3 separate regions of the Homo sapiens genome follow, and all the other regions are linked to region 2. The links are contacts of gene promoters, found by promoter capture Hi-C in blood cells and fetal thymus (Javierre and others, 2016). All regions are on one chromosome and are shown on one strand. Each heading gives the region's core, a stretch centred on a gene start or on the middle of the fragment in contact. The rest is flanking DNA. Distances are from core to core; before and after follow the strand shown. Region 1 has its middle 34 kb from the start of FPR3. Region 2 holds the start of HAS1 (hyaluronan synthase 1). Region 3 overlaps SIGLEC5 (sialic acid binding Ig like lectin 5).

Evidence for each region. The method cuts DNA at HindIII sites, captures the fragments that hold promoters and counts their contacts. A CHiCAGO score of 5 or more calls a contact.
Region 1: a contact is called between a fragment that was not itself captured here and the fragment with the promoter of HAS1 in region 2, in 1 of 17 cell types (monocytes). The highest score is 7.9, in monocytes.
Region 3: a fragment that was not itself captured here is called in contact with the fragment with the promoter of HAS1 in region 2 in 2 of 17 cell types (neutrophils and monocytes); the score reaches 6.2 in neutrophils.

The regions. Positions count from the first base shown.
Region 1 is chr19:51,826,860-51,830,698 of GRCh38, forward strand. It overlaps a transcript of ZNF577 not described here. Among named protein-coding and RNA genes, the nearest start is that of FPR3, 34 kb to the left of the region's middle. The HindIII fragment of the contact is 6,940 bases long and covers 1-3,839 here.
Region 2 is chr19:51,722,714-51,726,557 of GRCh38, forward strand. HAS1 (hyaluronan synthase 1) reads right to left here and starts at 1,278. Exons shown (of 5, transcript NM_001297436.2): 1 at 1,212-1,278. The coding sequence starts at 1,220. The HindIII fragment of the contact is 33,518 bases long and covers 1-3,844 here.
Region 3 is chr19:51,613,203-51,616,571 of GRCh38, forward strand. The region is part of intron 8 of SIGLEC5 (sialic acid binding Ig like lectin 5); the gene reads right to left. It overlaps LOC124904753 (a long non-coding RNA gene), which reads left to right. Exons shown (of 3, transcript XR_007067313.1): 2 at 627-847; 3 at 2,222-2,514. Among named protein-coding and RNA genes, the nearest start is that of SIGLEC5, 16 kb to the right of the region's middle. RefSeq lists a silencer at 2,465-2,614. The HindIII fragment of the contact is 7,305 bases long and covers 1-3,369 here.

The DNA of each region.
Region 1 (3,839 bases), core at 749-3,248, 100 kb after region 2:
TGAGGGGGTCACAGGACCACTTGAGTCATAAGTCATGAGCCCTGGTAAGGTCAGTCAGTTGCTAGAATGCAAGTCTGAAAAACATCTCAAAAGACTAATCCTAGGTTCTACAATAGAGGTGTTACCTATAGAAGTGATTGGGGAAGTCACAAATCTTGGTCTTTACTGCCCAGGTGTCTCTGGCCACATGACGTCTGGCAATAAAGGATTATAGAAACTATAATCCTACATTTTAGCAGAATTCAGACTCCTTGAATAATCCTAATCTTAGGGCCTTTCATTACTTTTCAGTCTCAGAGCAAGAAGGGTGTTAGTTAGGGAAGGCCTACTATCATCCTTGCTTCCATGTTAAACTATAAACTAAATTCTTCCCCAGTTATCTTAGCCTACAACCAGGAGTGAACAAAGACAGATAACCTTTGAGGCTAGAGGCAGGAAGGAGTCAGCCACGTTAGATTTCTCTCACTGTCAAAATTTTTGCAAATGTGGTTTCACTTATTGGCATGAGACAGTATAATAACTGTATGGTACTTGATATGTTTCTTTCAAGTAATGAGAATGTAAGCTATCTGAGGGCAGGTATTTTGGTCTATATTGTTTGCTGATGGATCCCAATCCCCTGCAAATAAGATAGTGTCTGATATGTGATAGGCACTCAATAAATGTTTATGGCATTGATAAACAATAATATCACTTAATGTCCAGTCAAAATTATCTCCAGCCCTCATAATATGAATCAGGTCAGGTCTAGTAAATTCCCATCCTCATGTCCACAGTATTTGTAAATTCCCAGCTGGCTTACATTTTCATGAACATTTCTGATTTTGAGTTTCTGCTTAAGTAAACTACTCTGGTTAACCATTGCCTAAAGACTTCATATTTAAATAAATAACTCATAACTCAGCCCTTTACCTTGCTTTCTGCACATAAACACTCAGAAATTGTCAATTCTGTATTGTGAACATACTTTCCTGATGCACTGGCAAAAGACACCACTCAACATGAATATCAGGCAATCCTGTTATCAGTGTTCTCACTCACCCCACTGCTTTACTCATTTTCTTCTCCTTTTCCCTTCTGTCTCTCCTAAAGTTATTGCATTTCCAAGGCAGAGCACTTTGCGCATTTCATTTGCACGTTTGACTCCTATAAATGCTTTAGAGTTCCCAGGAGGTGTATATTCTTAAATGCCCAGCCAAGGTGTAGCCATAGAAAATAAGGAACAAGGCTGGGCATGATGGCTGACTCCAGTAATCCCAGCACTTTGGGAGGCCGAGGTGAGTGGATCATTTGAGGTCAAGAGTTCTAGACCAGCCTGGCCAACATGTTGAAACGCTGTCTGTACTAAAAATACAAAAATTATCTGGGCATGGTGGTGTGCACCTATAATCCCAGCTACTTGGAAGACTGAGGAAGGAGAATTGTTTGAACCTGGGAGGTGAAGGTTGCAATGAGCTGAGAATGTGCCACTGCACTCTAGCCTGGGAGACAGAGAAAGATTCCATCTCAAAAAAAAAAAAAGGAGAAGAAAAAGAAAAAGAAAATAAAAAGGCACAAGGACAAAACCTAGATAGGAGAGCCAGGGCTTCCAGATGGGCTAATTAAGAGACTTCCTCCACTGCCAGGACAGGGGATTCTTACTATTCCTTCCCACTGGCCTTGGTTAATTGCAGTAGAACAGTGCCTGCTACATCCTCTCCATTTTTCTTTTCCTCTTTAGGAGTTTTCATTGTGGAGTCTCAATTCCCATTGCATTATGATATATTGTGGGTTCAGGAAACTGAGATTTTTTTTTTAAAGTTATGGGACAGTTACCACAAAGAAATACTTCCCAATGTATGTCCATGTGGATGGCTCACTAACTTCCTGTATCAGGCCTGGTCGGTCTGGGACAGCACTACTGCTTGCTGGTTTTAGATTTTTTGTTGCTTTGTGCAACTTAGTACTGCTGTTGTCAGGTGTTGCCTTGGGGACTCTCCAGAAACTCTGGTGAATATAGACAGCTCTCTGAGCCTTCAGGCTCCCCTGCAGCTCCTGGAGGGCAGGTTTCATTGTAATGAGGATGTTTCGCTATGAACAGTAGTCACTCTTTCTCTAATCAGGCCCCTGGTGACAGGCCACTACTTGAGGGCACGTTGTCCCTTGAGCTATATATGCTGCTCTTGTTACATGGGGTCTTGGTAGTAGTCTGGCCTGTACTGGGTATAAGTTGCAAAGTCCTGGTCTCCAGCCAGAGTGAGCTGGCCAGTATGGTGAAACTCTATGTCCATCTCTGCCAGGGTCCAACCTGGCCGAATGACAGATGAAAAATGCACTCTGAGACTGATATCCAGTGAAAAAGCAGGCTAGGGGACTGGGCAGCTCACAGACACCGAGGAGGGAGCTGTAAAGAGTCAGTAGCCACAGCCCCGACAAGCTGGCACTGTGGGCATTTATTCAGTACAGATTTAATGACAAAGGCCTGGAGTCAACACGTCTTGTGGGTAATTAACATTGTCACCCCCCACCCCCCAAGACAGCAGTCCTGTGCACAGATGATTAAATACCAGGTTCCGAGGCCTAAGTAAACTAACTTATCTAGATCAATTCCTTTACACTTCCTTGTTATCCATTCTGAGAAAATTCAGCTGCCTTCAGCCAAATCCTCTTCTGAAGCTATGCAAATCCCAGGCCTTCCAAGAAGGTTTGCATCCTTTTCCTATAATTTATCTTACAACTTTTCCCACCATCCTGACCGATCTCCTACACATCTCACTGATGAGAGAGCCACAGGATACCAGGCTCCTGGGTAGCAGCAATTCCCTCATAGTGAAGTCAGAAAAGATGATAAAATGCTGGGCTTCAGTGTGTTGATAAAGGAGAGCCAGGATGAAAGGATCAAGTCACCTAAGCCTAACCTGTAATATGGCAACTGCACAAGTCCCCTTGGCAATTTTCAAGAGCAAGTGCTGCTGAGGCCAGTGCCTCCTTGGTTGCTGCATTCCTTCCTGCTATCACTCCTTGTCCCCACTAGCCACTCAGAGGTCAAGTGGGGCACCTTCAAAAGGGAAACAACTGCCCACAAGGCCAGTGCAAATGGAGCTCACCCCCAGATGTTTTTAGTAACAATTTGTAAAGTCAAAACAACAGGGTGCCAAACCCAAGGTCATCTAGATTTTCTCCTGTTATCTTCTAGGAGTTTTATAATTTTGTCTTTTACATTTAGGTCTGTGATCCATTTTGAGTCCTATTTATCTGGTGGAAACCTGACTGACATAGCATATGCTTCTAGTGTTTAAAAAAAAAAAAAAAAACAGAGGAAAGATGAAGCATTAACTAATATAAATTAGTAGAAATTGAGTGGAAGAAATGAAAATAGTCTCTCTGTCTACTTTATCATGCCATTTTCTTTTTGTGTTTTTGCCATCAGCATATACATCTGTTCTCTAATCTACTAACTGAAAACATAAAAACCTTTTGTACCACACGCGTCCTCCTGAACTTTACAACAAATTTCTCTGCTCTCCTTGACAGCAAACTCAAGGGTCACTTCCAGTTTCTTTCTCTACTTCCTCATTTCACATTTTCTCCAGAACTCATTCTAAATGGGTTCATGTCCTGATTACTGCAGTGGGACTACTCTTATCAAGGACAACAGTGACATCCATTGCCATGTTACTGCACTGCAGGTTCAGACATTTGGTGCTTGCCTATGAATCCAATGGAGTAAATCTAAGTCATATATGCTTATCTGATAATGATGGGAATCTTAGGCCCCTAAGCATATATGACTCAGTTGTCCACACCCTTTTATTTTAAAATATATAATTCTCTTGGTGACATCACACTTGTTTGGTTTT
Region 2 (3,844 bases), core at 28-2,527:
GATTCTACATTTACCACATCGAAGTTGAGTACTTTCAAAAGAGACCAGATGGCCCCCAAAAGCCTCAAATATTTAATATTGGGCCCTTTATTTAAAAAAATGTGCTGGCCCCTGACACACTGGGTTAAATAAAAATATATTATTAAAATTAATTTCACCTGTTTGTTTTTACTTTTTCAAATGTGGCCACAAGAAAATTTTAAATTAGATATTGTGGTTTTCGTTACATTTCTAGAGGACAAAACTGAGGTACAGCTTTTAAACTCTCAACATTAAACATTATTCTTTCTTCTCGAATCCCCCTTCTCTCTTCCTTTGCTTCAAACCTGGCCTTGCCTGAGTTCCTAGGGATGGCTCAATTCATGCTGGGGATCCAGAGAGTTGATTCCAGAAACACAGATGAACACACGTGTAGACACACTCCCCCACACGTGAACTCACACATGATGAGTGACACACAGAATGAAATTACTCGTGTTCTACAGGATGACCCGAGACACCCACTCAGGCCAAACACAGCGATCCCGTGACCCCCACCGACGGCCACACAGGTGAACCTGCAGACACACACCCCTCAGCAGGAAAAAGCAACACCAGCAAAGGATGTCCACGTGGCCACAAACACACAGAGCCCCAACTGAGAGTCTGGGGCAATGGGATGCACAGGGAAGATTTCAAGAGAAATAGTAGGTGACTGTCAAGCTGATACTGAACCAGATGAAATTGCTATTCTTCCAAGTTTAGAGTGGCTCAGTATCGGCGATTTCATTTGGTTCAACTTAATAGCTATTGAACGCATGAAACAGAAATCCATTCCCATGTGCCACAGGCAAATCCAACTCTCTTTCTCACTCAGTCTCTTTCATTCGCTCACTGTCGCACTCCCTCTTTCTCTCTGCCTCCCAGGGAACATAGACATACACAAGTTTGTAGCAAGATACGCAGATACAGAAATACGGACATGGCACGTCTCACCTACATGTACTTGGGATGGCCGCTCACACAGGGCAATGTATACACAGACCTGCACACTCAGCCTCACATGCTCACTGTCCCCTACACACATATGGTCACTGTCAGGCACATGGATACACACATGAAATCATGCACACACAGTTCCCCAACACACGTGGTCACACATATGGCAGTAGTTTTCCCCACATGGCTGTATACACACACACACACACACACACACACACACACACACACACCTGTCTCATCGCAGTGGGTCTGGCCGGGCTCTCTCTTCTCTCCGGCTTGCTCTCCCAGCCTCTCTGTGGCCAGAGAGCTGGAGGGGGGTCATTTGAAGACCAGCGCAGGCGGGGGCGGGAGCGAGCGCTGACGTCAGTCAGGCTAAGCTGGGCCAGGGGCTCTGAGGTCACGGCCCAGCCGGGCAGCTCCACCCGCTTCCCGCTATTACTCCCACCCCCCTCAGCCAGACGGGCCTCCCTTCCCAGGCCCCCATGTCTACCCGCGCCCCTCCTCTAGTCCTCTCTGCCATCACTCCCCCTCCTCTCCCTCCCTCCTCTATGTCTTCTTCTCTCTTCCTCCCCCCTCTCGTCCCTTGTCTCCCCTGATTTTTCTCTTCCACCTCACTTGCATTTTGGGGGTTCCCCTCATCCCCCCATCCCCTATCCCTGTATTTCCCTCCATCCCTTTCTTTCTCCCTAACCCACTATTTCTCCTCATCTCTTTGTTGGTACCCTCATCTCTCTCCCCATTACCACATTTCTCCAAGTTTCTGTCTTTCTCTCCATCCCTTTCTTCCTCTCCACTTCTCTTGCCTCCTCTCACCCTCATTTCTTTCTCTTCTTGCTTTAAAGCTCTCCCCACCTCCCCCTTCTCACCTTCCCCAGTCACCCCCGCCCTGCTTCTCCCCACAGCCGCCTCTCCTGTCCCCAGAATCCATCTCTGGGTTGGGCCCCCCAGGGACATGTCTCAGCAACTGGCAGATGGAACGAAACTCACACACGTGCGTGCTGTGGGTGTGCCTGTGTGTACGCTGGCCCGAGGCACGGCTGCCTGGAACCGGAGCTGTGAGTGAACATCTGTCCATTCAGCGCCTAACTGACGTGGGTCTGCGTGTGTGCACCAGGGTCTGGGGTGGAGAGCTGGGGCGCTGGGATTTGTATCCCCAGGGACTCAGGGATGAACACAGAGAGTTGTCGGTCAGCTGACCCTGGGGAGCCAGCCGGGGTCTGTCAGTGCTGTCACCCATCAGGGAAACTGAGTCAGAGGAAGGGTGAAAAGAGATGCGGGACCTGGGGTGCCCGAACCCCAGCCCCTCAGGACCAGATCTGTGATAAATGTCTGTTTACATGCCCTTCTTTCCATGAATTTTTTAAAAAAACTATCTGTATCTAATTCTGTTCTTCTCTCTGCTCCTCTTACTGTGAACTATTGATGTCTCACTTTCGGCCTTGGTAGCTGCCTCGGTAGCTGCCTCGTTCTTTTCTCCCTGCCTGTGACTCCAACGACCTTTGGTGTCTGGCACGGGCCAGCTCCAGGACAGGCTGAAAGACATGGAGCAGCAGAGAGAAATTCCCCCGTGCTTCTCTCTCCTCGTCTGTCCCTCCCCAAATCTCTGTCATTTTGTATCTGTCACCCCATCTCTGTTTCTCGGTCCCTCTATTTGGGTCTCTGCCTCTGTGTATTCCTGTCTGTTTCTCCTCCTCATCCCCCCTCACAGCCATTCTCTCTCTGCTTTTACCTGGGAGTGTCTGTCCCTTTGCATTTCTGAAGTCTCCCTGACTTTCTTCTTGTGTGGCTCTCTTTCTTTCTGAGTGCCTCTCCCTGACTTTCTCACTGTGTGTCCATGTGTGTGTGTCTCTTTCTCTCTGTCTCTTTTTCCCTCTATCTCCCTCCCTCTCTAGCTCTGTCTCTATCCTCCTTCCGTCTCTCTGCATCCCCATCTCTCTCTTTTTTTTTTTTTTTTTTTGAGACGGAGTCTCACTCTCTCACCTAGGCTGGAGTGCAGTGGCGTGAGCTCGGCTCACTGCAACCTCCGCCTCCCGGGTTCAAGCGATTCTCCTGCCTTAGCCTCCCGAGTAGCTGGAACTACAAGCGCCCACCACCACACCTGGCTAATTTTTTGTATTTTTAGTAGAGATGGGGTTTCACTATGTAGGCCAGGCTGGTCTCCAACTCCTGACCTCAAGTGATCCATCTGCCTTGGCCTTCCAAAGTGTTGGGATTACAGGCGTGAGCCACCGCACCTATCTCTTTGTAAGGCTCTATCTCTGTATGTGTTTCTCTGTCTCTGTCTCTCTCATTCAGTTTCTCTCCATTTCTCTGTTTCTACATCTTCGTCTCTCCCTGCAGTTCCATCTCTTCCAGCCTGTCCCGGAGCTCTCCCCTGCCAGACACCAAGTCCTCACACCAAGTCCTCACACCCTGGGGTTTTCCCCGAGGAGGCTGCGCCAGGCCAAGCCTCTGCCTGGGCCTGTCAGGGAGAAGGTGCATTCCCAAGGAGCTCGAACGCCCTTCCCACCCACCAGGGCGGGCCGGGCTGTGTCTGACGCTGTTGCCGGGAGCCGGGCTGCCTGGTGTCTGGCTGTGTCAGGATGATGGGTCCTCAGATGATCTGAGGCCAGCCCAGAGCAGAAGGGGAGGGTGAGTCCTCCGCCCAGTGGGAGGGGGCAGCGCAGGCTCCTCCCCAGAAGTGGGGCATTTGGCTGCCCAGCCCCCACCCCGCCCTGCTCGGGTGGAGCAGCTGTATAAAACCAGATGTTTCTAAAACCAGAGTGCGGTTGAGGAAGGATAACCAGGGCTTTAATCCTCAACAGTTCCCTCCTCTAAGACCCAGGAGTCCAGGTTCCCAGCACCCTCCTCCTTCAGACCCGAG
Region 3 (3,369 bases), core at 1-2,500, 110 kb before region 2:
ACAGGCTGGGCACTCAGGCAGCAGGTGGTGTGCCAGGATAAAGGAGTATTCTGTGAAAGTCACACTGTGAACATGATGGCCAGATCTCTGGGGTTCCCATTCAAGGCCGGGCTAGATTTTATGACCACTCCCCAAAGAGAGACCTCAACACCAAATAAGAGAAAAATACAACAAATGGTTCCCACAGGGAAGTTGGGCTGATGTGACATTTATCAATTCATCCTTTTATAATCCACTCCTCCTAAGGACAGGCCATAGGCTGCCTAGGTCAGGGTCTATGTCTGATTTCTCACACTGTACGTGCCCAGGAACCGGCACAGGGCAGACAGGGCTGGGTTCAAATCCCGGCCCCACCTGTCCATATACATTTCCTGTGAACTCAACTATTCGCTCATTCTTTCAAAATTTTGTAATACTATGATTGATCAGACCATATTGAGGACTTACTAATCACATTGAATCATCACCAAAAAAAAACCCACAACAGTATAAAAGATATTCTAATTATCCCCACCTTACACACAGGGAAACTGAGGTGGAGAGAGGTTAAGTAGCTTGCCCAGGGTTATTCATCTAATACATGGCGAGGCCAGGATTCGAACTCAGCCCTGTCTCCCCTGTTTCAGGTTCTGGGCACGTACAGTGTGAGAAATCAGACATAGACCCTGACCTAGGCAGGAGGAGCGGATTATTGATGAAGCAAATGTATACCTTCGGCATAGGTTACAAGGTGTCTTATGTGCAAACCAGAAAAGAGATGGCAATTCTGATCCTGGACCCAGTTTCCATGAAAGAGAAACAAAATGGAGCAGATCCTGTCCCCAGCAAAGATGGTAACCAGATACAAGTAAGCAATTTCTTTCCTCTCCCACCTTCACCCATATCCCTACCCATCACGCTATGGAAAATATGTTGAAAGCAACGTGAGTCTTCAAACAGTAGCTCAGAAGTTTTCTTTTTGAGACAGAGTTTCACTCTGTCATCCAGGCTGGAGGGCAGTGGTGTGATTTCGTCTCACTGCAACCTCCCGTCCCTGGCTCAAGCAATCCTCCCACCTCAGCTTCCTGAGTAGCTGAGACCACAGGCACAAGCCACCATGCCCAGCTAATTTTTGTAAAGACAGGGTTTCGCCACGTTACCCAGGTTGGTCTCAAACTCCTGGGCTAAGCGACTGGCCCAGCTTAGCCTTCCAGAGTGGTGGGATTACAGGTGTGAGCCACCACACCTGGCCATACAGTTTTTTTAAAAGGACTCCGCAGTTAGGGAAAAATGGCTTCATTGTGTCAGAAAAAAATAGACTTTCTGGAGAGAGCTGCTTATATTAGGCACAAGAAAGATGAAATAAAATGAAAAAGTGGCTATGCACACCAGCATTATGCAGGCAAAGGAAGAAATAAAGACATATGTCTATCAATAGGTGTGCGGTATATGAAATAAAAAGGGTGAAATTGACAACTGAAAGAAAAGGCACAGCTCAGATTAGTAAATAGGACAATGCAGTATGTTCACCCTTTCACTCAATAGCTCTTTGCTGAGTGCTTTCTTTGGGCTAGATGCCGTTCGTATAAATGAGGACATAAAGCAGACTGAAACCACCCAAATACCTCCCCGTCATGCAGTTCCTTGTTAGACAGAAGGAAAAGTAATACTGGGTAACAGTTATAAGTGAGCTCCCTGTGAGCTTGCCACTTTACTAAGCACTCCTTGTAACAATCCGAGACAGATACTAGCATATTAATAACCCAATTTCTATAGGAGAAAACAAAAAAACAGAGAGGTTCATTAGCTTATCCAAGGTCACACAGCTTGCAAGTGGGTGAATCTAGAACCTGAATGCAGGACGTCAAACTCCAGGGACCATGCTGTGCCTCGCTTTACCATTCTGCCTATGGCATGAAAGTGTGCAGAATGGTTAAAGGTAAAATAAAGGAGAAAACAAAGCTCTCTCTACCATAGTTCTTGTCAAAAGAGTGAATTCATACACCGGCTCTGTTCTCCAAGACCTACCAATGATGGAACTAAAGATGGAGCTCCTGGGTGAACAAAACTTTACAAATCAATTTATGATCAATCAATCACACTGATATCCCTAGGGGAAAGTTAAGGCTCATTTGAAGAAAAGGGGTGGGAGAACTGGGCGGGGGGACAGCTGGCTTGTTGAGAGGATGGGTTAGCCCAAACATACTTGAATTCTGCTCCTTTCTCTCCTCTACCCTTCCAGTGGGACAAACATTGTCTGCCCCTCACTGCAGAATTCAGAGTATGGACAGGATTATGATGTGCCAGTGTCCAACAGGCATGTGTTGGGTAAGCACCAGAGGCCCACTGGGGTGAGGAGAAGGAGAACGGAGGTGGAAGCTCACTGGTCTTTGACATTCTCCTTGCCATTTTCTCCACTCCAAACTCCCAGGGCTGGTGGATCACAATGCAACGAGAGTCCTTGACCAATGTTGCTTCTCCACGAGGGTCTGAAGATGGAGGGATGACTTAAGCTGCCTTACTGGGGTGATAGGAAGTGGGACTGGTTGGGTGTGGTTTGGGTTCTTGAGGGGATCCACCCTGGGGCTTGTCCCAGTCATTTCTCTTTTTTTGAGACGATGCTTCACTGTTGTTGCCCAGGCTGGAGTGCAATGGCATGATCTCGGCTCACTGCAACCTCCACCTCCCAGGTTCAAGAGATTCCCCTGCCTCAGCCTCCCGAGTAGCTGGGATTACAGGCATGTGCCACCACACCTGGCTAATTTTGTATTTTTAGTAGAGACGGAGTTTCTCCATGTTGGTTGGGCTGGCCTCAAACTCCCGACCTCAGGTGATCTGCCCACCTCGGCCTCCCAAAGTGCTGGGATTATAGGCGTGAGCCACCGTGCCCGGCGTCCCTGTCATTTCTTTGGCTCAGTAAGCCTGACACAGGCCAGCATCTGCCCTTCCCTCATTCAAGAAACACTGCCAGAGTAGCCAATAACCCCAGGGGAATGTGAGCTCACAGCTCAGAAGGCTGGGCACCTTTGAAGAAAAGCAAACCAACAGAACCTGATAGACCACTAGAAGCACAAGTACTAGGACGCTTTGGTCAAGAAGCTAAACTGAGCATATTACATGCACTAAAAAGATGTGGCAATATTAGCAGCATGAAAACAAGCATAAGAAACTTTGTCAATAACAAAGTGTGCATGCAAAATGAATGTGAAACATAATAAGGAATTATGTAATTGTGTACTTGATGCAAAAAGGGCCATGTGGAAATATCTGAAAAATATCATAGGAAGAGCCCAATGGATGGGATGGAGAATAGAATGACTATAATTGAGGGCAAATTAGTGAGCTAGAAGGGCCGTCAGAAGTATCCCCTAAAAGGAAGTAGGGAAGGAT